Regions from separate parts of the Homo sapiens genome. Here all the other regions are linked to region 5. The links are contacts of gene promoters, found by promoter capture Hi-C in human tissues and cell types (Jung and others, 2019). All regions are on one chromosome and are shown on one strand. The core of a region is centred on a gene start or on the middle of the fragment in contact, and the rest is flanking DNA. Distances in the headings are between cores, read along the strand shown.

Evidence for each region. Contacts are between HindIII fragments. The study calls those that stand out against the background at their distance.
Region 1: a fragment that was not itself captured here is called in contact with the fragment with the promoter of LAMC3 in region 5 in 3 of the 25 tissues and cell types used here (aorta, spleen and thymus).
Region 2: a fragment that was not itself captured here is called in contact with the fragment with the promoter of LAMC3 in region 5 in 1 of the 25 tissues and cell types used here (thymus).
Region 3: a fragment that was not itself captured here is called in contact with the fragment with the promoter of LAMC3 in region 5 in 2 of the 25 tissues and cell types used here (dorsolateral prefrontal cortex and hippocampus).
Region 4: a contact is called between a fragment that was not itself captured here and the fragment with the promoter of LAMC3 in region 5, in 2 of the 25 tissues and cell types used here (liver and thymus).

Annotation. Positions count from the first base shown.
Region 1 is chr9:130,809,647-130,815,292 of GRCh38, forward strand. The region is part of intron 2 of LOC124902288 (a long non-coding RNA gene); the gene reads right to left. It also overlaps a transcript of ABL1 not described here. Among named protein-coding and RNA genes, the nearest start is that of ABL1, 23 kb to the right of the region's middle. The HindIII fragment of the contact is 5,337 bases long and covers 1-4,677 here.
Region 2 is chr9:130,832,704-130,838,065 of GRCh38, forward strand. ABL1 (ABL proto-oncogene 1, non-receptor tyrosine kinase) reads left to right here and starts at 2,551. Exons shown (of 11, transcript NM_005157.6): 1 at 2,551-2,822. The coding sequence starts at 2,744. It overlaps LOC124902287 (a long non-coding RNA gene), which reads right to left and starts at 2,125. Exons shown (of 2, transcript XR_007061822.1): 1 at 2,016-2,125; 2 at 1-1,762. RefSeq lists enhancers at 1,606-2,132, 1,775-1,824, 1,845-1,894, 2,133-2,658 and silencers at 2,295-2,604, 3,075-3,124. The HindIII fragment of the contact is 5,982 bases long and covers 1-5,362 here.
Region 3 is chr9:130,790,795-130,796,239 of GRCh38, forward strand. The region is part of intron 2 of LOC124902288 (a long non-coding RNA gene); the gene reads right to left. It also overlaps a transcript of ABL1 not described here. Among named protein-coding and RNA genes, the nearest start is that of ABL1, 42 kb to the right of the region's middle. The HindIII fragment of the contact is 3,606 bases long and covers 1,122-4,727 here.
Region 4 is chr9:131,204,772-131,210,302 of GRCh38, forward strand. The region is part of intron 30 of NUP214 (nucleoporin 214); the gene reads left to right. Among named protein-coding and RNA genes, the nearest start is that of FAM78A, 69 kb to the right of the region's middle. The HindIII fragment of the contact is 7,607 bases long and covers 141-5,531 here.
Region 5 is chr9:131,005,352-131,010,963 of GRCh38, forward strand. LAMC3 (laminin subunit gamma 3) reads left to right here and starts at 3,823. Exons shown (of 28, transcript NM_006059.4): 1 at 3,823-4,236. The coding sequence starts at 3,864. The HindIII fragment of the contact is 10,117 bases long and covers 1-5,612 here.

The sequences.
Region 1 (5,646 bases), core at 759-3,258, 200 kb before region 5:
AGTTCGAAGGCAGTTAGGCTGGAAGAATTCTCTTTTACTCAGGAAAGGGTCAGATTTTTTGTTCAATTCAGGCCTTTAACAGATTGAATGGGGCTCACCCACATTAGGGAGGCCAAGCTGCTTTACGCATTTTGCCAGACTAACGTTTGACCAAAGATCTGAGCACGTATGGCCCAGTCAAGTTGACACATAATGTTAATCATCACAAAAGTCTTGCCTCAATAGTTGGGAAAAATTAATCCTAGAATAAATGCTATTCTGGTCTTGCTTAGCAAAGGTTAAGAGCAAGACCAAAAAGATCAAACCTTTTCCAAACAAAAGCTGAAGAATATTTTTAGGGATACAAAACCATCTAGGACCGAGTGTGGTAAAATGCACAATGTTTACCAGCCATTCCAGAATTACTAGGTATGAGCAGAAGTAGTAACATACAACCAATAACTGACCAGAAATGAGACAGATTATATAAGTAGTACATTACAGACATTAGTCATTATAATTGTATTCCATGTGTTCAGTAAGCTAAAGAAAAGATTTAATATGTTAAGTAAAGACATGAAAGATGATGGCTGGGCATGGTGGCTCACGCCTGTAATGCCAGCACTTTGGGAGGCCAAGGTAGGTGGATCACCTGAGGTCAGGAGTTCAAGACCAGCCTAGCCAACATGGTGAAACCCCACCTCTACTAAAAATACAAAAATTAGCTGGGTGTGGTAGCGTGCACCTATAATCCCAACTATACGGGAGGCTGAGGCAGGAGAATCACTTGAACCTGGGAGGCAGAGGTTGCAGTAAGCCAAGATCGTACCACTGCACTCCAACCTGGGCGAGAGAGCAAGATTCCGTCTCCACAAAAAAGAAAGATACAGAGATGAAAAATACACTGAAGACTGTCAGAATAAACATTGCACAAGTAAAGATTTGTGATTTTGAAGACTTAACCATAGAAACTATCCAAAATGAAGCAGAAAAAAAAAAGAAACCCTGAAAAAAATACATGAACACAACATCAGTAAAGTGAGGGACAACATCAGGTAGCCAAATGTGTGTGGAATTGGAGTCCCTGAAGGAAGGGAGGGTATGAGGGACCAAAAAATATATATAGAGAGAGAAAAAAAAATGGCTGAAAAATTTCCAAGTGTAATGAAAGCAGTAAACACACAGATCCAAGAATTTCAAGGAACTCCAAGCACAGGAAACATGAAGAAAAACTATATACTAAGGCACATCTTAAGCAAATTGCTTAAAACCATGGTTTAAAATGGCCAAAGAAAAAGATACATTATATACTTAAGATCAGGGTGACACCAGATTTCTCATTGGAAACAATGTAAGCCAGGTTAACAGTGGAACAATACATTTAAAGCAAAGAAAGAAAACAGTTGTCTACCTAGAATTCTTTTCTCAGTGAAAATACCTTTCAAAAATGAAGGCAAAATAAGGTCTCTTTCAGACTTTAAAAAAAAAAAGGAAGAATTTATTACCAGTAGATATGCAGTACAAGAAATATCAAAGGATGTAATTAAAGCAGAAAGAGAATGATAACTGGTAGAAAACTGGAGCCACCAGGAGTCCCAGGCTGCAGTGAGCTATGATCGCACCACTGCATTCCAGCCTGGGTGACAGAGTGAGACCCTCTGTCTAAATAAACAAACAAATAAAAGAAAACTGGAGCTATAAAAATAAATGAAGACAATGCAAAGGGTAACTAAGTGGATAAATACATAAGATATTTTTTCTTTTTGTTTCAGTCTCATTAAAAGATATGTCTTAGAGGTAATTACACATTGTAGCATTTGTAACTTACATAGAAGTAAAGTTTATGACAATAGCAGCACAAAGACTGGGAGTGGGAGAACAAATATACTCTTGTAAGCTTTTTACACTACATGTGAAGTTGTATAATGTCAATTGAAGGTAGACTGTGATAAGTTAAAGATGCATATGATAAAATCTATAGTAGCAGAGTTATAGCTAATGAGCCAACAACAATAAAAAGTTGGGATATAATCCCAACACTTTGGGAGGCCGAGGTGGGTGGATCATGAGGTCAGGAGTTCGAGACCAGCCTGACCAACAGGGTGAAACTTTGTCTCTACTAAAAATACAAAAATTAGCCGGGCATGGTGGTGGCACCTGCCCGTAATCTCAGCTACTCGGGAGGCTGAGGCAGGAGAATCACTTGAACCCAGGAGGCAGAGGTTGCAGTGAGCGGAGATAGTGCTACTGCACTGTAGTCTGAGCGACAGAGTGAGACTCCGTCTCAAAAAAAAAAAAAAAAAAAAAAAAAAGTTGGGATAAATATCTTTAAATAATCCAAAAGATGGCAGAAAAAAAAACTAAACAGGAAAAGCAAACAGAGCAGATGGGACAAATATGAAACAAAGAGCAAGATGGTAGGTTAAAATTCATATCAATAATTAATTCACCATTAAGGGCCAGGCAGAGTGGCTCATGCCTGTAATCCCAGCATTTTGGGAGGTGGATTAGGAGGATCACTTGAAGCCAGGAGTTTGAGACCAGCTTTGGAAGCCAAGTGAGACTCCATCTCTACAAAAAAAAAAAAAAAAAAAAAAATTAGCCAGGTGTGGTGGTGTAGTTCCACTCAGGAGGCTACGGTGGGAGGATCACTTGAGCCCAGGAGTTTGAGGCTACAGTGAGCTCTGATCACACCACTGCACTCCTCCAGCCTGGGTGACAGCGAGATTCCATCTTAAAAAAAAAAAATCCTCATTAAAAGCAGACATTGTGAGATTGGATAAAAAAGCAAGACCTATTTATATTTATATGCTGTCTACAGTTATCCCACTTTGAATATAAAAATACAAATACGTTAAAAGCAAAAGAGTGGAAAAAGATGTTAATATGTTAACATTAATGAAAAGAAAACCTTAGTGGCATATTAAACAAACTATATTTTAAAATGAATGTCACCAAGGATAAAGGAGAATTATTTCATAATAATAAAGAGATACATTCATCAAGACATAATTCTAAATGTTTATGCATGTATTAACAGAGATTCAAAATACAAACTTTTCAAGGAGAAATAAATCTGTAATTATAGTTGAAGGTTTAACAACTCTCTCACAAAAACTGATAGAACAAGTAGACAAAAATCAGTGAGGATATAGAAGATTTGGACAATATAATCAACTGACTTGACTTAATTGATGTTCAGTAGAACATTCGACCCCTAAACAGCAGAATACACGTTCTTTTCAAGTGCATATGGAACTGTTTCCAAGACAAATCATTTTCTGGGCCATTTTAAAAGCCTCAGTAGACCCGGCGGGTTGGCTCACGCCTGTAATCCCAGCACTTTGGGAGGCCAAGGCGGGCGGATCACCTGAGGTCAGGAGTTCGAGACAAGCCTGGCCAACGTGGTGAAACCCCGTCTCTACGAAAAATACCAAAAATTAGCTGTGTGTAGTGGTGGATACCTGTAATCCCAGCTACTCAGGAGGCTGAGGCAGGAGAATCACTTGAACCCGGGAGGCAGAGGTTGCAGTGAGCCGAGATTGCACTACTGCACTCCAGCTGGGCAACAGTGAGACTCCGTCTCGAAAAAAACAAACAAACAAAAGCCTCAGTGAATGTAAGCTGATTCAATTTGTAGAAAGTATGATCTCTGGCCAGGTGCGGTGGCTCACGCCTGTAATCCCAGCACTTTGGGAGGCTGAGGCGGGCGGATCACGAGGTCAGGAGATCAAGACCATCCTGGCTAACATGGTGAAACCCCTTCTCTACTAAAAATACAAAAAATCAGCTGGGCATGGTGGCGCTCACCTGTAGTCTCAGCTACTCAGGAGGCTGAGGCAGGAGAATCACTTGAACCCGGGAGGATGAGGTTGCAGTGAGCCGAGATGGTGTCACTGCACTCCAGCCTGGCTGAGAGAGCGAGACTCCATCTCCAAAAAAAAAAAAAAAAAAAAAAAAGAAAGTATGATCTCTGGCCACAAGGAATTAAATGAGGAATTAATAACAGAAAGGTATCTGGAAGATCTTTCAAATATTTGGAAAATAACATAATTTTAAGTAAATCATGGGTCAAAGAAAATCAACAGCGAAGTAAGTAAGTATCTGGAACTGAATGAAGGTGAAAGTGCCACATAAAATTTGTGTGATGGAGCTAAAGGGAAATTTATATAGTGCAGATGGTCCCTGACTTATGACGTCTCAACTTACATTTTTCAATTTTATGATGGGTTTTTCAGGATGTAACCCAATTTTAAGTTGAGCATCTGTATCAGAAAAGAACAAAGGTCCCAAATCAATGACCTTGGGGTCCCACTTTTAGAAATTAGAAAAAATGAAGACTAGTGAAACCCCAATTAAGCAGAAGAAAAAGCCAGTGTGGCCAGGCAGGGAGGCCCATGCCTGTAATCCCAGCACTTTGGGAGGCTGAGGCGGGCAGATCACAAGGTCAGGAGATTGAGATCATCCCGGCCAACATGGTGAAACCCCGTCTCTACTAACCATACAAAAATTAGCTGGGCGTGGTGGCGCTTGCCTGTGTAATCCCAGCTACTCAGGAGGCTGAGGCAGGAGAATCGCTTTAACCAGGGAGTCGGAGGTTGCAGTGAACCGAGATCGCGCCATTGCACTCCACCCTAGCGACAGAACGAGACTCCGTCTCAAAAAAAAAAGAAAGAAAGAAAGAAAAAGAAAAGGCCAGTCTGGAAATCAATGAAACAGAAAACCAGTACAGAAATCATGAAACCAAAAGCTAGTTATTTGAGAGAGCAATGAAACTCATAAACCTCTACCCAGACTGATCAGGGGAAAAAAGGGAAGACAATAACTGTAATATCAGCAGTGAAAGAGATGACATCACACAGATTCTAAAGATATTGAAAGTGTAATAACTGAATATTGATCAGCAATCTAGAAGAAACAGATTCCTTGAATGACACAAACTACCAAAGTTCACTCAAGAAGTAACCATCTGCCGGGCGCAGTGGCTTACGCCTGTAATCCCAGCACTTTGGTAGGCCGAGGTGGGCGGATCACGAGGTCAGGAGACCGAGACCATCCTTGCTAACACGGTGAAACCCCGTCTCCACTAAAAATACAAAAAATTCTCCGGGCGTGGTGGCGGGCGCCTGTAGTCCCAGCTACTCAGGAGGCTGAGGCAGGAGAATGGCTTGAACCTGGGAGGCGGAGCTTGCAGTGAGCCGAGATTGCACCACTGCACTCCAGCCTGGGTGACAGAGCCAGACTCTGTCTCAAAAAAATAAAATAAAATAAAAATAAAGTTTAGTAAAATAAAAAAAATCAGTAAAATACAAATAAAATTTAGTAAAAATAAAGCTGATTCTAAAATGCATGTGCAACAGAGGATCTAGAGTAGCCAAAATAAGCTCCTCTGTCTGACTTAAAGTCTTAATTAAAATAATCAGACAGGCCGGGCATGGTGGCTCACGCCTGTAATCCCAGCACTTTGGGAGGCTGAGGCAGGTGGATCACCTGAGGTCAGGAGTTACAAACCAGCCTGGCCAACATGGTGAAACCCCATCTCTACTAAAAGTACAAAAATTAGTCAGGCGTGATAGCACACGCCTGTAATCCCAGCTACTCAGGAGGCTGAGGCAGGAGAATCGCTTGAACCCGGGAGGCGGAGGTTGCAGTGAGCTGAGATCATGC
Region 2 (5,362 bases), core at 1,707-4,206, 170 kb before region 5:
GTCTTTAATTTCTTTCCTTTTCCCTTTCTTTTTAGCTAATAGCTTTTGGGTCTTAGGCTGATTAGAAGGAATCCTTCTTGGGGTGTTCTTCTGGTAAGAAGATTGAAGCTCTCCTTTATTTGCTTGTAACAGAATGCTCTTCGTATCTTTCAAAAGCGTCAAAAGCTGGATATGGAAAGTATAGGCCAGGTTTGATACAGAAGTGTAGTTTGGCAGTTTTTTCAGTATCCATTGCCACTAATTCAGTATTTTGTTAGATCTGTTGATGTATGGTTTTATAACTAAAATTAAAAAGATTTGGGTACAGTTTATAAGCATTATTCATTTTAAGAGGATTTAAGAGGATAAGATCATTTTAGACTCAAGAGCAGAATATTAGTAATAATAATTAGCTTAAAAAAATAAACATATACCAATATAAAGAACAGCACAAGGCAAGCAAATATCTGGGCCTATATTAACAGACGGTATTCAAGGATATGGCTAGAATTTCCAAAATGCCTAATAATGTGTAATTCTTGGCATTAAGCCGCCAATTTGAATATGGCCCTTTAATATGAAATGCTATATAATGACAGACTTTATTATAGTCTGATCCAAGGCCCCTGAACTTTCCAAAAGGGCAACAAAACAGACAGATACTGTATTTTTTCACTAGTTGGTACTGGTGGCACCCTTTTGAGTGTTATTTTTGGCATTACGTGTAGAGGTTGACAGATTCAAGACAACACTAAACATGTTAGCAGTCACCACACGCAGGCTGTCCAGCAGAATGACAGCGCTTCCCAGATCCTAGAAAGCATCCAGAGTCACTGCACCCATCCCCTGGGGGCCCTGTAGTCCTGCATCTCCAGATGATGGGAGCTGCAAACTTCCCTGATGGTGCCCTCTTGGATGCTCATGAGGCCTGATCTGGTACCACGACTCTAGCAGTAGGTCCATTCAATGGCAGTAAAAATACATGTTGTATGTTGATCAGAATTTGGCAGGACACATGTGGAAAGTTAATGACATCCTGGCCGAGAACCCCTGTGATATACACTGGTTACATCCTGTCCAACTGGAGTTTTTATGTGCTGTTTTTGGCAGAGCCAAGTGAAGATCTTGTTACTTAGCCATTCCTGAGGTACTGAAGATACCCGGGTTTTTGTCATTACAGGATAGGCTAGAAAGTAGCCAGGGTCTCATAACCAAGGCTTTCTCTGAAACATATAATGACAATGCTAGTTATTTGACCAAAGATATCCAATGCTTTAATCCACTTGGAATTTATTCTTGATGTGAAGGGTCAGCATCATCCACTGGTCGGGAGCCTGATCCTTGGAGCCAGGCAGACCTGGGTTGAGTCCATCTCCGCCTGTTTCCAGCTGTGGGCAAGGTGTCTGACTTCTCTGAGCATCTGTGGGGTTTGTTTGTTTTTAAACCTGAAGAATTGGGATAATCTGTTTCCTCACAGAATCATTACGCAGATGCAATACAGTTAATGAAGGTAACATGGCACATAGGAAGAGCACAATACACGTCAGCTCTTACTCTTCATGGCTAGAAGATGTGGACTAAACTTCCCCCTTTACAGTTTTGTGATTAACACCATTTATGAAAGAAATAAATGAAATAAATTCCTTTTCCTGTCATGAGGGGAACTTACCTGATTTTATTGAATTATTTGGTGCCATTGAGTTCCTTATTGTTTCCCTCTGACCTAGATTTCTGGGTGTGCGCCAGTAACACGACTGTGATTGTTGCTGCTTTATAACATTGTCTGTGGTCAGTCCAAACAAGAGTTTAAAATAATTGAATGAAATGGATTTTAAACAATGGTCCCCCCACCCTCACCCCGTGGCACTCGGCCAAAGGAAGAGGAAAAGTTCTCTGTTAAAGAAAATGAATCAGAGAAGAGGCCCAGACCGTGCCTCCGAAAATTCTCATTGTAGGGACTAAGTCCTCTCACTCTGAACTCACACCCGTCTGTTCGCAGCCTGACCTCATATCCTGGTCTGGATGTGCGGCCTCACCGGGGTGTCGTGCGCACGTGTGGTTGTCCTGTGGGTGCCAGCTCTGACTTCCTCCCCAGACACCCACTGCCTCAGCCTTAATCACAGGACGCGCGTTGAGTAGAAATGAGACCAGTTAGTATTGGTAACTGCAGAGGAATATGCATTTTCACCAGCGTTCTCGGGTCAGAGGGTTTGCCTGGCACCGCGTACTGGGAAACTCGCCAAAAGCGGTGCAGGTTGGAGACGCCCCAGGCCGCGGTGGAGTTGCGCGCGGCTTCTAAAGTGGAGTGGAGCAGGCCTGCACCCTCCCCGCCGGGGCTGGGACGGCGCTTCCAGGCGGAGAAAGACCTCCGCGGGCCGCGCGCGGCCTTCCCCCTGCGAGGATCGCCATTGGCCCGGGTTGGCTTTGGAAAGCGGCGGTGGCTTTGGGCCGGGCTCGGCCTCGGGAACGCCAGGGGCCCCTGGGTGCGGACGGGCGCGGCCAGGAGGGGGTTAAGGCGCAGGCGGCGGCGGGGCGGGGGCGGGCCTGGCGGGCGCCCTCTCCGGGCCCTTTGTTAACAGGCGCGTCCCGGCCAGGCGGAGACGCGGCCGCGGCCATGGGCGGGCGCGGGCGCGCGGGGCGGCGGTGAGGGCGGCTGGCGGGGCCGGGGGCGCCGGGGGGGCGCGCGGGCCGAGCCGGGCCTGAGCCGGGCCCGCGGACCGAGCTGGGAGAGGGGTTCCGGCCCCCGACGTGCTGGCGCGGGAAAATGTTGGAGATCTGCCTGAAGCTGGTGGGCTGCAAATCCAAGAAGGGGCTGTCCTCGTCCTCCAGCTGTTATCTGGAAGGTAAGCCCGGGCCGCACGGGTTGGGCTGAGTAGCCGCGCGCCCTCCCGCTGCTGCTGGGCCCTTCCTAGGCCTCGCCGCCCGCGCGCTCCCGCCTGCGCCCTCCCCGGGTCTTGTCTTTTTTTTCTTTCTTCCCTCTTCTCTTCTCTTCTCTTCAGTTCTCTTATATTCTGTCTCTCTTTCTTTCTCTCTGTGTCTGTCTCTTTTCTCTTCTCTTGTCTCTCTCTTTTTCTCTCTCTCTGTCTCTTTCTCTTTCTCGCGATGGCCCCTAGGCGCCGCCGGCGGAGCGTGGCCCCCAGCCCCGGCACCAGCCCCGGTAGAGCCACGCCGGATGGTGACGGCGGCGTCCGGGGCCCCACAGTGCGGGCTCCCCCGAAAAAGTTTGAGAAAGCCAACTCGCCAGGCCTTAACATCCCTGGGATCCCACGTTGTGGAATTTCCACCGTTAATTGGGACTGTGTGTTAAAAAGATCGACCCGTGTTTGTGAAAACATGCGATTTCCATTAAGCATCATGTACACAAGGAGCACCACTCTACCATTTATGGATACAGAATTTCAAGTGATCTTTCCATCTCCCCCACCCCCATCTTATCTACAGACCACGAAGAGGTCTTAGGAATTCGCTCTCTTTTCAGGGGAGGGGAGCCCATTTAAGAAGGCGTTTCCAAGGAGTCCCCCAGAGTACTGGGGTGTCATGTTCGTTTCCTTAAGTGAAGCTCAGGGCCAGGAGGGCTTCACTTTTGCGTTCTTTCTACCTACTCTCCTTCTCTAATTACATCTGTTTTATTTTATTTTTCTTTCCTGTTGTAGTCTTTAGTTTTATAAATGGAAAAAAAGTAAATTAAGGGTTATGGGTCTTCACTTTCGTAGCTTCTAGGTGGGTATGAAATTGATCTGATTTGAGACTGGTGCTCCCAGACCATTGCCTTCAGCAGAAAGGCTATCTGTGCTTCAGAGATGGAGTGGCACTTGGACTTCTCTGTTGTTTTCAACTAAGAATATAAGAGTAAAAATGTGGCCGGGCGCGGTGGCTCAAGCCTGTAATCCCAACACTTTGGGAGGCCGAGACGGGTGGATTATTTGAGGTCAGGATTTCGAGACCAGCCTGGCCAACATGGTGAAACCCTATTTCTACTAAAAATACAAAAAATTAGCCGGGCGTGGTGGTACACGCCTGTAATCCCAGCTACTCGGGAGGCTGAGGCAGGAGAATTGCTTGAACCCGGCAGGGGGAGGTTGCAGTGAGCCAAGATCGCGCCACTGCACTCCAGCCTGGGCGACACAGCAAGACTCGGTCTCAAAAAAAAAAAAAAAAAAAAAAGAGTAGAAAGAAATGTGAAGCTCACTTTAGATCAAGTAGGATTTCTGCTAGAATGCCATGTTTTTCTTTTTAAAAAAGCAGGAGAAATAAACAGGCCTCATTTATTTTCTAACCTATTTTTCTTTCCTTAACCTCTGACTCTACCCTGAAGGCCTGCTTGGAGTCACATATGCAGATCGCACTAGTGATGTGGGTGAAACCTGTTTGCCCTTCTTGCCACAGTTTGTGTACCTCACTCCTCTTCTGTCTCTGGGATTCCAGGGGGCTGAATGGCCCAGAGAAGGCTCATCTAGGTGGAGTGGGCTCACAGAGCCTAGCATTTGGAGGGTGGAGATTGTTTATTTGTCCCTAAAAGTTGATGTCTGAGCATTCCAAATCATCTTCAATTAATACATCGCTTATTTTTTCCAAGTTGCTCAAAATTCTGAGCACATTCTCATTTACATCTGTATCGAGTTAGTGTTAGGCATCATCATCTCCACTTTGCAGATGGGTGCCTAAGGCGGGGATGAATGGACTTTTGTAAGTGCAGAGCTGGAGCAAAGTTTAGGTCACAGCTTTGCCAAGTCATTGTTTTGTTTTCCTGGGAGTAAACCGGAGATTTAGTATGGACCTGGCTGGTTTAATTATTGTTTTGGGAAAAAAATCTAAAACTCATTCCAACATGTCTTGAAATGAATTATAATGTTGACTCTAAAGTCTCAAAAAAAAAAAAAAGTTCTAGTACAGCAGACTGCCTTGGGTTAAACCTTCTTCTAGGAAGGTGTCACTCTAGGAATTCTTTCTTACTGAGTTTTCTTCTTTTCGTTGTTATAGTTAATTAGAGAAAGTAAATGGAATTATCATTTTGTAGTTGGTAGACTTTAACAAGCCTCAGCGATAGTCTTTTAAAGACTGGAAGTGCTATTTGTCTTTTGGGAAAAATAGTTCCTAACATCTGGATGAGTAATCCAGGCTTTCCACTTTCACTGACAGCCTAAATCAGTCAATCAGTGTCGATCAGTCAGTCAGTGTTTATTGACGCCCACTCAGGGTCCCAGGCATTCCCTGTCAGGGAGAGAATTGAATGAGATCAAGTTTTTCATTGTTCTATCAAAGAAGCTTCCACCATAAATGTGGTTTGATGGTGCATGCTACCTGCTACTCAGCCTAGCTGTCAAAGCAACACTGGTAAACATAAAGATGGCTAGCAATTATTAAATGCTTACTATGTGCCAAA
Region 3 (5,445 bases), core at 1,675-4,174, 220 kb before region 5:
ACCTGTGGAAAAGGCCCATGCAAGTCCTGAATGTGGGCATGGATTCAATTAAGTAGGGAATTCCAGGATCCTGGATACCTAGAATATGGTGATCAGACTCAGGGTGGGTGCATCTCCTTGGGCCTTCAGGCCCCTTGCCCTGTGGGGAGAGGTGGAGTCTTTTAAATTATAGAATCTAGGGTAGGGGCCTCTCTTGGAACAGGTTCTAAGGGTGGTAATGAGAGACAAAAATTCTCTGGTTCAGGAAGCCCATCAAATTCCAAAGCGGCAAAGAAGGAAAGGAAAGAAATTCATGTCTAAACATATCAGTAAACCTGTGAACCTATAGAACATCAAAACCAGAAACGATTCTTAAAAATAGGAAGAGAGAAAAGACAGATTACCTACAAAGGAACAACAATTCATATGCCAGCTGGCTTTTCTATACCAAGAGTGGAACTACTGAAACAGTGTTTTCAAAGTAGGCAGTGAAAATAACTGTTGATCTAGAATTGTGTAGCCATGAAACAGCCTTTAAATAATGAGAACGAAGTGAAATAAAGACATTAGATAAATAAAAACAAAAAGAATTTACTGCTGAGAATTCATCACTGTGATGGTTAATATTAGGTGTCAACTTGATTGGGTTGAAGGATTGTTTCTGGGTGTGTGTGTGAGGGTGTTGCCAGAGGAAACTGACATTTGAGCTGGGGGACTAGGAGAGGAAGACCCACCCTCAACGTGGGTGGGCACCATCCAGTTGGTTGCCAGTGCAGCTAGAACAAAGCAGGCAGAAGAAGGTGGGATAAGCTTGCTGAGTCTCCTGGCTTCCTTCCTTCTCCCATCCTGGATGCTTCCTCCCACTCCTCCTGCCCGTCCACATAAGACTCCAGGTTCTAAGGCCTTTGGACTCTTGGACTTGTACCAGTGGCTTGCCAGGGGCTCTTGGGCTTTTGCCACAGACTAATGGCTGCACTGTTGGCTTCCCTGGTTTTGAGGCTTTCAGACTCGGACTGAGCCACTACGAGCTCTCTTTCCCGGCTTGCAGACCTCATATCGTGGGACTTTGCCTTGTAATCATGTGAGCCAGTTCTCCCAAATAAACTCCCTTTCATATATACATATATCCTATTAGTTCTGTCCCTTTGGAGAATGCTGACTAATACCATCACTAAAGAACATCCTCAAGAAGAAGGGAAATGACACCAAGAAGGAAGGTTTAAAATTTAAGACAACATTAAGTTGATCCAGAGAGATGCATTAACTTGCCTAAAGATCACACTTGGTTCAGAACCAAGCCTAGACTTAAACCGAGACAGGATGCAAGAAAGAAATCAAGTTAACGACAGAATTTCATTTTCACCCAGGAAGTAGACACAGGGTCCCTTGGGGCTCATTTTGGGAGAAGGCCTACCTTTTTCCCAGGACACACCACCATTTACACGTCGAGTCTTACAGCCTCCAGGACTTTAAGCTTCCCACTGCTAATGTGTCATTTTTCCTTTCTCTTGCCACTGAGTTGTTTGCTCAACTAGAGGATTTTACTTTCTGCCCTTCAAGTTCACATGGTAGCTCGCATGGTAACATAAGTGAGTCTTGGCAGTGTTGCCAGGGACAGGATGACTTTAATTTCATTCCTCCTCATCTTGATGCTTTTTTTCCCTTTCCAGTTCCCATCAGCTACTTCCCTACCCCTAGTGGTCCTATGAGTCCTTCAGTTCTCCCCCTTTCTCCATGACACACCAGGAGCCATGTCAGATGTGATTTCTGACCTGGGACCCTGAATGGCACAAGGAGAAGAAGTACGGAATTGGGGGAGGGTATAAGAGGGTTTAAGATGCGTGAAAAATGTTGAGTAGGACATTTCAAGAGATAGTTCAAATAATATGGTACCTTTTGTTTACGTCACCACACTTGGCAAATTTGATCGTATGACATCTCATTTGATGTCTTTGAGATGACAGATGTTGTCCCTACTGTAGAGCTAAGATCCTCAGAGAGGTTAAATGACTTGCCTGTAATCACTAAGTTAGAAAGTGGCAGAGCCCCAGAACTACCCCATGCAGCTGCTTTCTAGTTTCTAATCAGGTGCTTTTTCACTAACACCATCTTGCCTCTACAAACTGACGGCTTACAAAATGCTACCAAAGGGTAATACTTTTTATTTTTGAGATGGATTTTCACTATTGTCACCCAGGCTGGAGTGCAATGGCACGATCTCGGCTCACTGCAGCCTCCGTCTCTGAGGTTCCAGCAATTCTATTGCCTCAGCCTCCCGAGTAGCTGGGATTACAGGTGCCCGCCACCATGCCCACCTAGTTTTTGTATTTTTAGTAGAGACGGGGTTTCATCATGTTGGCCAGACTGGTCACGAACTCCTGACCTCAGGTGATCTGCCCGCCTCAGTCTCCCAAAGTGCTGGGATTATAGGCATGAGCCACCGCGCCTGGCCAAGGGTAATACTTTTTAATCAGCCAATAAGATTCACATGGAATTTGCTTATTTTTAGTATTCCTGTCAGTATTGATGGATTTCTTTAAAAGTTTTTTCCATAGATCTATTTGCCCATCACCTCTCCAACTCCTCCAGCATCTGCCCCCTTTCTTCCGCATACATATTGTGATGTCTAACTGGGCCTTAATTATCATGAATTTTAAATTGGTGGTATCCATACTAATCAGGATTTCCTGTAATTGGAACATTCTTCACACTTTTGATATTTGCTGATTGTCCTCTCTATGCATTTTAGAAGTTTCAGACTATTTTTTCTGAGAAATAACTAGAGTCTGTGCAAGCTGTGTCGTACATTTTGACTGCAATTTTAGTACTGAGTGTTGCTTGCTTGAAAAGAGGCAGGTAAACCAAGTTATTGAGTGCAGTTTCAAACACAAGCCACCACTGTTCCATAGATCAGGGGTCCCCAATCCCCAGGCCACAGACTGGTCATGGTCTGTGGCCTGTTAGGAACCAGGCCGTATAGCAGGTGGTGAGCGGCAGGTAAGCAATGAAGCTTCATCTGTATTTACAGCCGCTCCCCATAGTACTCATTACTGCCTGAGCTCCGCCTCCTGTCAGATCAGTGGCGGCATTAGTTTCTCATAGGAGCATGAAATCTATTGTGAACAGTACATGCGATGGATCCAGGTTGCGTGCTCCTAGTGAGAATCTAATGCCTGAGGATCTCTCATTGTCTCTTATCACTCCCAGATAGGACTGTCTAGTTGCAGGAAAACAAGCTCAGGGCTCCCACTGATTCTACATTACAGTGGGTTGTATAATTATTATATATTACAATGTAATAATAATATAAATAAAGTGCACAATAAATGTAATGCACTTGAATCATCCCAGAACCACCCCTCAGTGGCCCCATCCCCAGTCTGTGGAAAAATTGTCTTCCACAAAAGCAGTTCCTGGTGCCAAAAGGGTTGGGGACTGTTGCCATTGGATCATGACACATTACTATCTTGTTGAATTAAACGTTGCAAACTGCAACGTTTGTAACTGCCAGTAGGCAGTTTTTATTTTATTTTTCATTTTTTATTTATTTTTTTACCTGTGAGCCCACATCCATAAAGTTAGCAGACTATGTCATAGTCAAGAGACTTTGCTTTATGAACTAGCTGATTTAGTTTGCTCACAAGCTTTGAAAGAGTCTTTTTTTAAAGGCCAAGTTTAAGACACCTTAGACCATAGAAATATGTGTATTTCCTGGCCATTCGATCATTTGAAGGCCAGATTTTATCAAAACAAATGAATCACTGTTTCTCCTTCCTTCATCATTCCCTAATTGGTTTCCAAAATAAAATGATTAGTGGCTGCATTTCTCAACTGCATTGTTTTGATTACAGTCTTACTGGCTGTATTGGGTGAGACATTGGGAAATGCTTTCATAACTGGTGATCACTGTTGACGGGGTTCCCTGACTTCATAAAGGCCCAGATTATGTTACCCCGAGAAAGTCTTTGAAGGAGCAAGCTCTTTCTTATGCTTTTGTTATTAAGTTAGGGAAAATGACTTTAAATAATGGAACCTTAGTTACAATGTAGGTTCCACTCTTCTTGAGATTTGTGTTACTTTTTAGACATGACAAAAGTGTGCATTTTAGAGTTCCTCTTACCCCAGGAACAATGGACTCACTTGGCTTTCAAAAGGGCAGAATATACTGAGTATTTCTGACTGCAGGTTTCTTCTTTCTGGTACCCTCAAAAATACACCATAAATAGTAGATTAATCTCCCTTTTGCTGTCCGTGAGTCCCTTCCCGTTTCTTCAGCACTGCTTGATATGACTGGTATGGAGGCCTAAAGCTGGCTGGCCTAGTTAGTGTTACCCAAGTGGTTTCTTGTGAGCATCCATTTGCATGCAGTTGGGCCTTTTGTCCATTGGTGAACTGCTCCTTGCCTTGAGGTCCTGTAGCTAGTTTGCCACTGAGTATTTCCTTCAAAAAACAGGAAGGATGCCCTGATATTATGAAGTGGGTGGTTTTAGAATTCCACTTCAGATGGCACTGACCTTTCCTTAATACAGCTGGTTTCACTTAATACATTTTGTTTAAACAAAGCCTGTTCCTGGAAGTGGTTCCAGAATAGTCTGTTCCTTGTAGCTGTTCCTTTGCTCTTAATTTTAAAAGTGTTTTCCCGACAGTATCATATGTGCTCGCACGACAGATTAGAAACTTCTGCTTGAAGTCATCACACTTATGAATTACGTTGTGTCCAGTTATGATATATTGATGATTGTATTCAGTAGCTTGAAGGTTTAAGTGATAACTTTATTTTGCAAAACTGACCACATTCTTTTGTTGCTTAGGTGTCTCCCCTTTAAGGGATTCTGATGTCTAGCAGTCTCAATGGACAAAACAGATAAAAGAGAGAATGAGTATTTTTCACTTTGTAAACATGAACAATTCTTAACAAAAAAGCCAGAGCTGGACTAATTAAATAATCAACATGTTTTAAAGTGGGATAGACATTTCTATTTTAGGTATGATACCACAATATTTAAATTTTAGGAAAGACTGGATAGAAATATAAAATAAGATACTAGTAGTCCTGCTCTGACTTTTCTAAAACAAGTTTATATTACTTTATTTAAAAATGTTTATGAGAGTGCCTTTTAAAAATAGGGATTTATAGGCTGGGCGCGGTGGCTCATGCCTCTAATCCCAGCATTTTGGGAGGCCGAGGCTGGCGGATCACCTGAGGTCGGAGTTCGAGGCTAAAACCCTGTCTCTACCAAAAATACAAAGTTAGCTGGGTGTGGTGGCATATGCCTGTAATCCCAGCTACTCGGGAGGCTGAGGCAGGAGAATTGCTTGAACCTGGGAGGTAGAGGTTGCAGTGAGCCAAGATAGTGCCACTGCACTCCAGCCTGGGTCACGGAGTGAGACTCCGTCTCAAAAAAATAATAATAAGATAAAAAATAGGGATTTATAAAACATATATGCAACTCATTAAGAACTTTT
Region 4 (5,531 bases), core at 2,694-5,193, 200 kb after region 5:
TAATCCACAGATTCAGAAGCCCAACAAGTGCCAAACGAGAATGCATAAAAGGAAACTGATTCTAAGACCTGTCCTAGTGATACTGAAGAACACCAAAGATGAAATATTAAAAGCAACTAGAGAAAAAAGACAGATTATCTTCTAGGGTGCCATAGGCAGACTGACAGCAGACTTTTCAGCAATGACCATGAAAGCCAGAACTGGCCACCTAGCATTTCTAAATCCAGCAAAAAAATATCTATAAAGAATGAAGAGAAATCAAGACTTTTTTTCAGATAAGCAAATACTGAAATAATTTATGTCTAGCAGACCTGACTCCAGTCTGGGCGACAGAGCAAGACTCCATCTCAAAAAACAAAAGAAATTCTAAGAGATACTGTTTGGAAAGAAGGAAAATTTGACCTCACTAAAATTATGGCCCTCTTAATTTTAGGGTAAAACAAGCCATTAAATAGGAAAATTGTAGCCTATGTAACCAACAGTGTAATTGTATTCAGAATATGTAAAGCTTTCCTATAGTTCAAAAAGAAAGACAGCTATACCCAAATTAAATTAAAAGGCTGACAGTACCAAGTATTGGTGAGGAAGAAGAGCAACTGGGAACTCATATTGCTAGTGAGAGTGTAAATTCATATTAACCACTTTGGAAAACCATTTGGCAGTATCAAAACTAATATACAAAATCCCTCTTGGCCCAGCAAATCTACCCTGAATATGTAACCAACAGAAATGAGTGCCTTTGTTCACCAAAAGATATTGATAAGAATGTTCACAGCAGAATATTCTTAATAGCTAAACACAGGAAACAGCCCAAATGCTTATGAGCTAAAGAATGCATAAATAAATTGTGGTATATTCATACAGCCCAATACTACAGAGAAATAAAATGTACTGCTCCTATAGCTGGCCTAGGTTTGTTTTTTTGTTGTTGTTTTGTTTTTGAGACGGAGCCTTACTCTGTTGCCCAGGCTGGAGTGTGGTGGCATGGTCTTGGCTCACTGCAACCTCTGCCTGCTGGATTCAACCTCAGCCTCCCGAGCAGCTGGGATTATAGGTGCCCACCACCACGCCCAGCTAATTTTTGTATTTTTAGTAGAGACAGGGTTTCGCCATGTTGGCCAGGCTGGCCTTGAACTCCTGAACTCAGGTGATCTGCCCACCTCGACTTCCCAAAGTGCTGGGATTACAGTCATGAGCCACCATGCCCAGCCTAAATTTGTTTTTTAAAGAAATTCGTGCACGTATGTATCAGGATACAAGTGTATTCATAGCAACATTGTTATAATAGCTTACAACTAGAAGCAGCCCAAATGTTTGTCAGCATTCATATGGGTAGGTAAATTTACATTATTCCACATAGAATTTTTTTCTTTTTTCTTTTTTTTTTTTTTGAGACAGGGTTTTACTCCTGTCGTCAAGGCTGGAGTGCAGTGATGCGATCTCCACTCACTGCAACCTTTGCCTCCCAGGCTCAAGTGATTCTCCTGCCTTAGCTACCCAAGTAGCTGAGACTACAGGTGCACACACTGTGCCTGGCTAATTTTTTGTATTTTTTTGTAGAGACGGGGTTTCACATGTTGCCCAGGCTGGTCTTGAACTCCTGGGCTTAAGCAATCTGCCTGCCTCGGCCTCCCAAAGTGCTGAGATTAGAGACATGAGCCACTGTGCCCAACCCTCTTTTCTTTTTTTTTGAGACAGGATCTCACTCTGTCACCCAGGGTGGAGTGCAGTGGCACAGTCACAGGTAACTGCAGCCTTGATCTCCTGGGCTCAAGCAGTCCTCCTATCAGTTCTCCAGAATAGCTAGGTCCACAGGTGCACCACCACGCCCAACTAATTTTTTCAGTTTTTTGTAGAGATGGGGTCTCACCGTATTGTCTAGGCTGGTCTGTAACTCCTGGCCCAAGTGATCCTCCCACCTGGACCTCCCAAAGTGCTGATGAGATTACAGGCATGAGACACCATACCTGGTCTCATAGTAGAATATTATCCAGCTATGAAAAGGAGCAGATTTCAGCTCCATGTATAACTAACAAGCACAATGTTGAGCCAAAGAAATAGAAAACATCACTGTGATAAACTCCATATTGTTACTTCCCCTTCCACTCCGTATTCTTCCACCACGGAAATTATGTATGCAATTGGAAGGGCCAAAGATTGAAATCAAGGTTTTTTCTATGATGGCAGGGGCCTTATTGTTTTTATTGATTGCTGTATCTCCAATGCTTAGGACTATGTCTGGCACATGATAGGCATTGTGGAAATGAATGAACTTTCAGGTAGCAGAAGTATCCTCAGAAAACTCTAAAGATGCTAGGCAGATTCTGGCTAGGATGTAAAAGAATATAGAAAACCTTCACTGCCATAATAACACCAAGAAAAATCCAGATGATGTAGAAGTCACACTTACTCTGGCAGTATTGGAATTATTTACTGCTGTATAACAAATTGCCTCAAAACCTAGTAGCCTGCAACAGCTACTTATTTATTATAGTCTTGGATTCTGTAGGTCATAACTTCAGATGGACTTAGTAGGGATGGCTTGTCTTCACAGTATCTGTGATCTCAGCTGGAAGAAGGGAAGACTGGAGGCAGGAGTCATCTGAAGGCTCACTCTGATGTCAGTGGTTGGCTTGGCTGTTGGCTCAGACCTTAGCTGGAGCTGTTAGCTGAACACCTACATTTGGCCTATGTAGCCTGGGCTTCCTCACAACGTGGTGGCTAGGTTCCAAGGAGGAACATTCCAAGAAAGAGGAAGAGCCATGCTGAAGCTGTATAACCTTTTATGACCTATCCTCAGAAGTCACAGAACATCACTTAGGCTGCATCCTCTTCATCAAGGCACTCACAAAGTCCCATCCAGGTTCAAGAGGAGATACAGAGGCCGCCTCTTGCTCTAGAAGAGCATATGTGACTAGAAGTATTGCTGTGATCATCTTTGGAAAATATCTGTCATAATGGGACCATTGAAGAGTGGCAGAAAGCCTTGTTGAACTGGTTTCCAGAGAGTGGAGCCCATCATAGGTGTGAGCACTGTGGCACAGCAGCTGCTGGGGGCAGATGCCAGGTCTGGGTTTGAGCAGGTAGTAGAGAGGACTTGCCAAAGACTGAGAAAATGTACTGGCTGGAGAAGGAGCTGTTGGCAGTGATGGGGGCAAGCAAAATAAATGACCAGTAATTACATGAAAAGGTGATCAAGTAGCATTAAACTAATGAGGGAAATGAAAATCAAAACCACAATTAGATAAGATACCACTTCACACCCCCTAGGATGGCTATCATTTAAAAAGTAAAAAATAAAAATAACCAGTGTTAGCAATGATACAAAGAAATTAGAACCCTCATACATTGCTGATGGGAATGCAAAATTGTGCAGCTACTATAGTTTGGTGGTTTCTCAAAAAGCTAAATATAGTACTTCTACCATATGACCCAGCAATTCTGCTCTGGGGTAGAATACCCAAAGGAATTGAAAAAAAGGGATTCGAACAAATACTTGTACATCAATGTTCATTGCAGCATTATTCACAGTAGCCAAAAGGTGGAAACAACCCAAGTGTCAAACAGCAGATGAATGGATAAACAAAATGTGGTATATACATTCCATGGGATATTTTTCAGCCATAAAAAGGAGTGAAGTTCTTGGCCGGGTGCAGTGGCTCACGCCTGTAATCCCAGCACTTTGGGAGGCTGAGGCGGGCGGATCACGAGGTCAGGAGATCGAGACCATCCTGGCTAACACAGTGAAACCCTGTCTCTATTAAAAATACAAAAAATTATCCAGGCGTGGTGGCGGGTGCCTGTAGTCCCAGCTACTCGGGAGGCTGAGGCAGGAGAATGGCATGAACCCAGGAGGCAGAGCTTGCAGTGAGCCGAGATCGCGCCACTGCACTCCAGCCTGGGCGACAGAGCGAGACTCCGTCTCAGAACAAAACAAAACAAAAACAAAAGGAATGAAGTTCTCGGCTGGGCATGGTGGCTCACACCTTTAATCCCAGCACTTTGGGAGGCTGAGGCAGGCATATCATGAGTCAAGAGATGGAGACCATCCTGGCCAACATGGTGACACACCGTCTCTACTAAAAACAAAAATTAGCTGGGCATGGTGAAGCTCGCCGGTAGTCCCAGCTACTTGGGAGGCTGAGGCAGGAGAATCGCTTGAACCCAGGAGGCGGAGGTTGCAGTGAGCCGAGATCACGCCACTGCACTCCAGCCTGGGCGACAGAGTGAGACTCCATCTCAAAAAAATAAATAATAAAAAGGAATGAAGTTCTCATTCATGCTACATATAGATAAACTTTGAAAACCATATGCTAAGGCTGGGCGCAGTGGCACACACACCTGTGATCCCAGCACTTTGGGAGGCTGGGATGGGCAGATTGCTTGAGCTCAGGAGTTTGAGACTAGCCTGGGCAACATGGCAAAATTCCATCTCTACAAAAAAAAAGACCCACAAGTTGGCTGGGCGTGGCAGTGCATGCCTGTAGTCCCAACTACTAAGGAGGCTGAGGTGGGAGGATCACTTGAGCTCGGGAGGTCAAGGCTGCTGCAGTGAGCTATGTTCCTATCACTGCACTCTGGCCTGGGTGACAAAGTGAGAACCCTGTCTCAGTCAGTCAAATTTATTTATTTATTTAGAGACGGAGTCTTGCTCTGTCGCCCATGCTGGAGTGCAGTGGCACAGTCTCAGCTCACTGCAACCTCCGACTCCCAGGTTCAATCAATTCTCCCACCTCAGCCTCTCAAGTAGTAGCTGGGACTACAGGTGTTCACTGTCACACCTGGCTACTTTTTGTATTTTTAGTAGAGTTGGAGTTTCACCATGTTGGCCAGGCTGGTCTCGAACTCCTCACCTTAGGTGATCTGCCTGCCTCGGCCTCCCAAAGTGCTGGGATTACAGGCGTGAGCCACTACACCTGGCCTCAGTCAGATATAAAAATTAAAAACTCAGATTGGGATCTGAAAGACTTGTAAGTGCAACAATAATTTATTCAGCATACATATCCTCCAGCTCTCCCCCGCTAATCCTCCCCAACTTTGCAAAGAAAAAGGAACTAAAGCAGCACTAAAAAGTAGAAAGAACTCACAGGGTCTTACATTCTCCTGTTTTCTGGAACTCTTGTTTGAAAGGTGATACTTCCTCTTGCCTCCCACCTCAGATACTTACAGACCAATAACCTAAAACCTAAGTGGAGACTGTTGGGCTAACCAGAGGTGAGCTCAGTCTTCTTAAATCTGTGACTCTGTTCCAGATCAACCCTTAGTGAAATCTGAATAATTATTTCCTCACTTTAATCAGACGAAATGGGAGCTCTCACTCTCTAGGAAAAGCATTAATGTTCTTCAGTCACCACTGTTCTTCCATAATACAAACATACAGAGCAACCAAAAAAGAGAGTGACACCCACAATTAAATTTTTAAAATCAGCAAAAACCAACCTATAGATGATTCAGATATTGGAACTGGAGACAGACTTTAACTGTCATGTTCATAGGGCTTATGGGAAAATAGTTGAAACAGTGGTTGAATA
Region 5 (5,612 bases), core at 2,573-5,072:
AGGCATTAGGTCATAACCTATTCCTCTTCCTTACTTAGAAGTGTTTTTACCTTTCTCAGCACTCCACAAATTTCTTCCTCCTTCCTTTGTTCTCCTCCACCTTTGCCTCTTTTAAAAAGTTCTAAGTTGCTAGCCAATCAGGACAAATACAGAATGTGAAGTCCCGTTCCAGCCAATGGAAACTGGACACAGCAGTAAAGTAGACGTGTCAGGTTATAAATGACCCTGTCTCCTTTGTTCAGTGTACTCTAGTGGCAAAACTGCTGGCGAGTGTACCCTTTCTGCACAAAGTAAAAATAGCCTTGCTGAAGAAATTAAATTTATGTTCAAGTGGTATTTCTTTATGGCACCGAGGAACAAGCATTTCTAACATTATCATGGACACTTTATGACTTTCCTGGACCCTGGGCAGTTTTGCCTTAGCGGGCTCCTTTATTTATTAAAAAATATTAAAAATTCTATTTTACCGAGGGGAGAAGGTTATAGAGAGTTATTGTTTAAGAGGACAGAGTTTCAGTTTTGCAAGATAAAAAGTTCTGGAGGCCGTGTGCAGTGGCCCACGTCTGTAATCTCAGCACTTTGGGAGGCTGAGGCAGGAGGATCACTTGAGGTCAGGAGTTCGAGACCAGCCTGGCCAACATAGTGAAACCCAGTCTCTAAAATAAAAAAATTAGCTGGGCATGGTGGCAGGTGCCTGTAATCCCAGCTACCAGGGAGGCTGAGGCAGGAGAATTGCCTGAACCTGGGAGGCAGAGGTTGCAGTGAGCCAAGATGGCGCCACTGCACTCTAGCTTAGGTGACAGAGCAAGACTCCATCTCAAAAAAAAAAAAAAAAAGGTCTGGAGATGGATGGTGGTGATGGTTGCACAACAATGTGAATGTGCTTAATATTATTTAATTGTAACTTAAAAGTGGTTAAGATCGTAAATTTTATAAATATGTTATATGTATTTTACCACAATTATAATTTTTTTTTTTTTTTTTGAGACAGGGCCTCCCTCTGTCACCCAGGCTGGAGTGCAGTGGCGTGATCTTGGCTCACTGCAACCTTCGCCCCCTGGGCTCAAGCAATTCTCCCACCTCAGCCTCCCAAGCAGCTGGGACCACAGGTGTATGCCACCATGCCCGGGTAATTTTTTGTATTTTTAGTAGAGACGAGGTCTCACCATGTTGCCCAGCCTGGCCTCAAACTCCTGAGCTCCAGCGATCTACCCGCCTTAGCCTCCCAATGTGCTGGGATCACAGGTATGAGCCACCGTGCCTGGCACTAACATTTTTAAAAATTATATTTAACCATTGCATTGATCTAAAGACGGGTATATTAATATCATACGTTAAAACATGTTCTTCAGCCTAAAAGTTCTTTTTTTTCTTCTGACTTTAAAGATATTAGAACAGTTTTTGTGGGTTCCTAGAATTCCTGTGGGCTGCCATGTTTCCTGTGCCTGATAGATGAATTTGCTTTGGATGGGTGCACAGCCCAGCTCAGGGTAGCTGCGTGGACCATCAAGAGTCTGCTGCAATCATGTTCTTGACCATAAGAGAAAACTTTAACAAAGAAGCTTCCATAACACCATCAAAAAAACAATTTGGAATTACATTAAATGATATTTTAACTTGGGGAGAATTTGTATATTTAAACAGTTGGAAATCCGTGAATATAGATGCTGGTCTCTTCAGGTTTTCTGTCTCTCAGTAGCATTTTATAATTTGATTCATTTATATCTTGCACATTTCATACCAGATTTATTATTAGGTGTTCTACCATTTCCTACATCATTGCTGGCATCAGTTTTTTGTTTGTTTTGTTTTGTTTTTGTTTTGTTTTTTAAAAAACAGGGTCTTGCTCTATTGCATAGGCTGGAGTGCATTTGCGTGACCTCGGCTCACTGCAACCTCTGTCTCCTGAATTCAAGCGATTCTTGTGCCTCAGCCTTCCAAGTAGCTGGGATTACAGGTGTGCCACAATGCCTGGCTAATTTTTGTATTTTTAGTGGAGATGGGGTTTCACCATATTGCCCAGGCTGGTCTCGAACTCATGACCTCAGGTGATCTGCCTGCCTCAGCCTCCCAAAGTGCTGGGATTACAGGCGTGAGCCACCGCACCCAGCCAGAAAATGCCTATTGCTGGCATTGGTTTTCGTACTCTATCCTGTAGTCAGCCATCTTACGGAGCTCTTATTAATTTTAATAGTCTTAGTAGAATCTTTTAGATTTTCTAGATGTATGTTCAGGTAAGTAGAAGATATAAATATTTATATCTTTTAAGTTTTTTGTCTTATTGTATTAGCTAGAACTTCCAAAATAACCTTAGGTACCAGTGGTGATATCATATACTAACTCTACTTAGATATAGTTCTGAAATCTCTAACTTATTCCATGGGTCTATTCTGTAGTCCTTTCCACAACCGTATTGTTTTAATCATGTGTAAATAACTGGTAGTGAATCAGCCCACTACAGTTCATCTTGCTTCCAAAAATTTTCTTTCTTTCTTTTCTTTCTTTTTTTTTTTTTTGATGGAGTTTCTCTCTTGTTGCCCAGGCTGGAGTGCAATGGCATGATCTCAGTTCACTGCAACTTCTGCCCCCCGGGTTCAAACAATTCTCCTGCCTCAGCCTCCTGAGTAGCTGGGATTACAGGCACGCACCGCCACACCCAGCTAATTTTTGTGTTTTTAGTAGAGACGGGGTTTCACTATGTTGGCCAGGCTGGTCTCGAACTCCTGACCTCAGGTGATCTGCCTTCCTCAACTTCCCAAAATGCTGGGATTATAGGCGAGAGCCACCGCGCCAGGCCAGGAAATTTATTTCTATTTTCCTTAGAGTTCGTCTGGGAATGGCTGCCTTTTTTTTTTTTTTTTTTTCGAGACAGGGTCTGACTCTGTTGGCCAGGCTGGAGTGCAATGGCATGATCACAGCCCACTGCAGCCTAACCTCCCGGGCTCAAGGGATCCTTCCACCTCAGCCTCCCAGGTAGCTGGGACTACAGGCTTGTGCCATGACGCCGGGCTAATTTTTGTATTTTTTTGTAGAGATAGGGTCTCACTATTTTGCCCAGGTTGGTCTCGAACTCCTGGCCTCAAGTTATCCTTCCGCCTCCACCTCCCAAAGTGCTAGGATTACAGGCGTGAGCCACCGCGCACGACCTGGCTGCTAAATTTTATCGAATGACTTCTCTCCCTCGATTTGCTAATGTTAATAAATGGGGAGTAAAGGGGGCATTTATGGGGGTTGGGGCAGAAGACAAGGAAGCCCTCTCTGAGGTGACATTTGTGATAAGACCAGGTACCCTTGTCACAAATGTCAGGTTAGAATCTCTTTGCTGTGGGGACAGAGCGCAGCCGGCAGCAGGAGTGCTTTTCAGGGTTAAGGGCGACAGGAGCTATGCGGAGCCATCTCACAACCCTGTCCAGGGCACACTTTATTGCTAGGAGGAGATGCGCAAACGGTAGCGATCAGTTAGAGATAGATCCTCTTGTCCCCTTTTATCTCAGGACTCCAAGGCACTGCTGAACAGTTTCTGTTTAATGAGCAGCCATTGAAGCCTCCCAATGGCGAGAATGAGCCTGCATCTTTACCGACCCCACTCCACAGACGAGGAAACTGAGGCTCAAAGAGGCCCGGGTCGCCTCTGGGGCAGACTCCCGAGCCGCGCACTGCCGGGCACGTCCAGCAGGTGGGAGTGGGCGCCCGGGGACGGCGCGGTCCCTGGTATTTTTAGTGGGGTGGGGCCGCCGCCGCCCGCCCCTCCCTCCAGCCTCCCCGCCCCGCAGGGGAAGGCGGGTCCTGGCGGCCAGCGCGCGGTCCGCGCCCACCCTAGCCGAGCGGGGCCGGCAGAGCGCGCGGCGTCGGTGCCCTTGACCATGGCGGCGGCTGCGCTTCTGCTGGGGCTGGCGCTGCTGGCACCGCGGGCGGCCGGCGCGGGCATGGGCGCGTGCTATGACGGCGCAGGGCGCCCGCAGCGCTGCCTGCCGGTGTTCGAGAACGCGGCGTTTGGGCGGCTCGCCCAGGCCTCGCACACGTGCGGCAGCCCGCCCGAGGACTTCTGTCCCCACGTGGGCGCCGCGGGCGCGGGGGCTCATTGCCAGCGCTGCGACGCCGCCGACCCCCAGCGCCACCACAACGCCTCCTACCTCACCGACTTCCACAGCCAGGACGAGAGCACCTGGTGGCAGAGCCCGTCCATGGCCTTCGGCGTGCAGTACCCCACCTCGGTCAACATCACCCTCCGCCTAGGTAAGCGCGGGCTGGGGGCACCGCCACCGCACCCCGTGTCCCCACTCCACTGGGGGTCTGAGGCTGAGGCCTGAGCTGCTGTGCGCCCAGGTTGGGCTGCAGGACCCAGATATGGTGTTGGATGGAGGGGCTCAGAAATAGGAATTAGGCTGGGTGCGGTGGCTCACTCCTGAAATCCCAGCACTTTGGGAGGCCGAGATGGGAGGGTCGCTTGAGCCCAGGAGTTCAAGATCAGCCTGGGCAACGTAGTGAGATCCCATCTTTACAAAAAATAAAGAAAAATAGGCCGGGCGCGGTGGCTGACGTCTGTAATCCCAGCACTTTGGGAGGCCGAGGCGGGCGGATCACCTGAGGTCAGGAGTTCGAGACCAGCCTGGCCAACATGGTGAAAACCCGTCTCTACTAAAAATAGAAAATTTGGCCGGGCGTGGTGGTAGGTGCCTGTAGTTCCAGCTACTCAGGAGGCTGGGGCAGGAGAATCGCTTGAACCCGGGAGGTGGAGGTTGCCGTGAGCCGAGGTCGCACCACCGTTCTCCAGCCTGGGCAACAGAGCTAACTCCGTCTCAAAAAAAAAAAAAAAAAAAAAAAAAAGCTGGGCGTGGTGGTGCACACCTATGGTCCCAGCTACTCAAGAGGCTGAGGCAGGAGGATCACTTAAGACTGAGAGGTTGAGGCTGCATGAAATATGATAGTGCCACTGTGCTACAGCCTGGGCTACAGAGTGAGACCTTATCTCTTAATAAAAAGAAAGAATGAAAAAAAGAAGAAAAAAAAACAGGACCTGTACCCCTAGATAGCCAGAAGGATAGACTGAGGGGTGCCCCGTGGGGCGGGAGAGGCAGGGAGTCACTTGCTGAGCTTTGGTTCTAGGTTGCAATTATAATCCCCTGTAATGGTTTTCCATCCTAGACCAGAACTGTTGGGGAGGTGACACACCAAGGACTGAATTGGTCACCCTCTAGGGCAGGGGCTCCTGATCTTGGGTCTTCTGGTCAACTTCAGGTATTCAGTGGACCCCTGAAGCTGCCTGCAGTCCTCGGGTGGGTTCTGGAAGATAGAAGCTGTGATGTTCATCACTGCACAGGCAAAGTTTAACCCTCTGGGGAGGAGGACTAAGTTTCTTCGTGCTGCTGGGCAGCTGCGCCCGGTGGCATGGCCTCTCTGCCCTGCTCATGACTTGCCGAGGTGCAGAAGCCCTTAGATCTCCAGGAATCAGAATCTGGAGTCTGGACCCAGCCCCGGTTCTCAGCCCCTGCCCCCACTGCAGGGAGCTGGAATGCTCTCTCCTCCCTCCGTGTTCAGCCCGATTCCCATGTCCTCTGTGGCCGGGTAAGCGCCAAGTGTCTTTCCTGTTGCAGCCTCCACTGCCCTTTCAG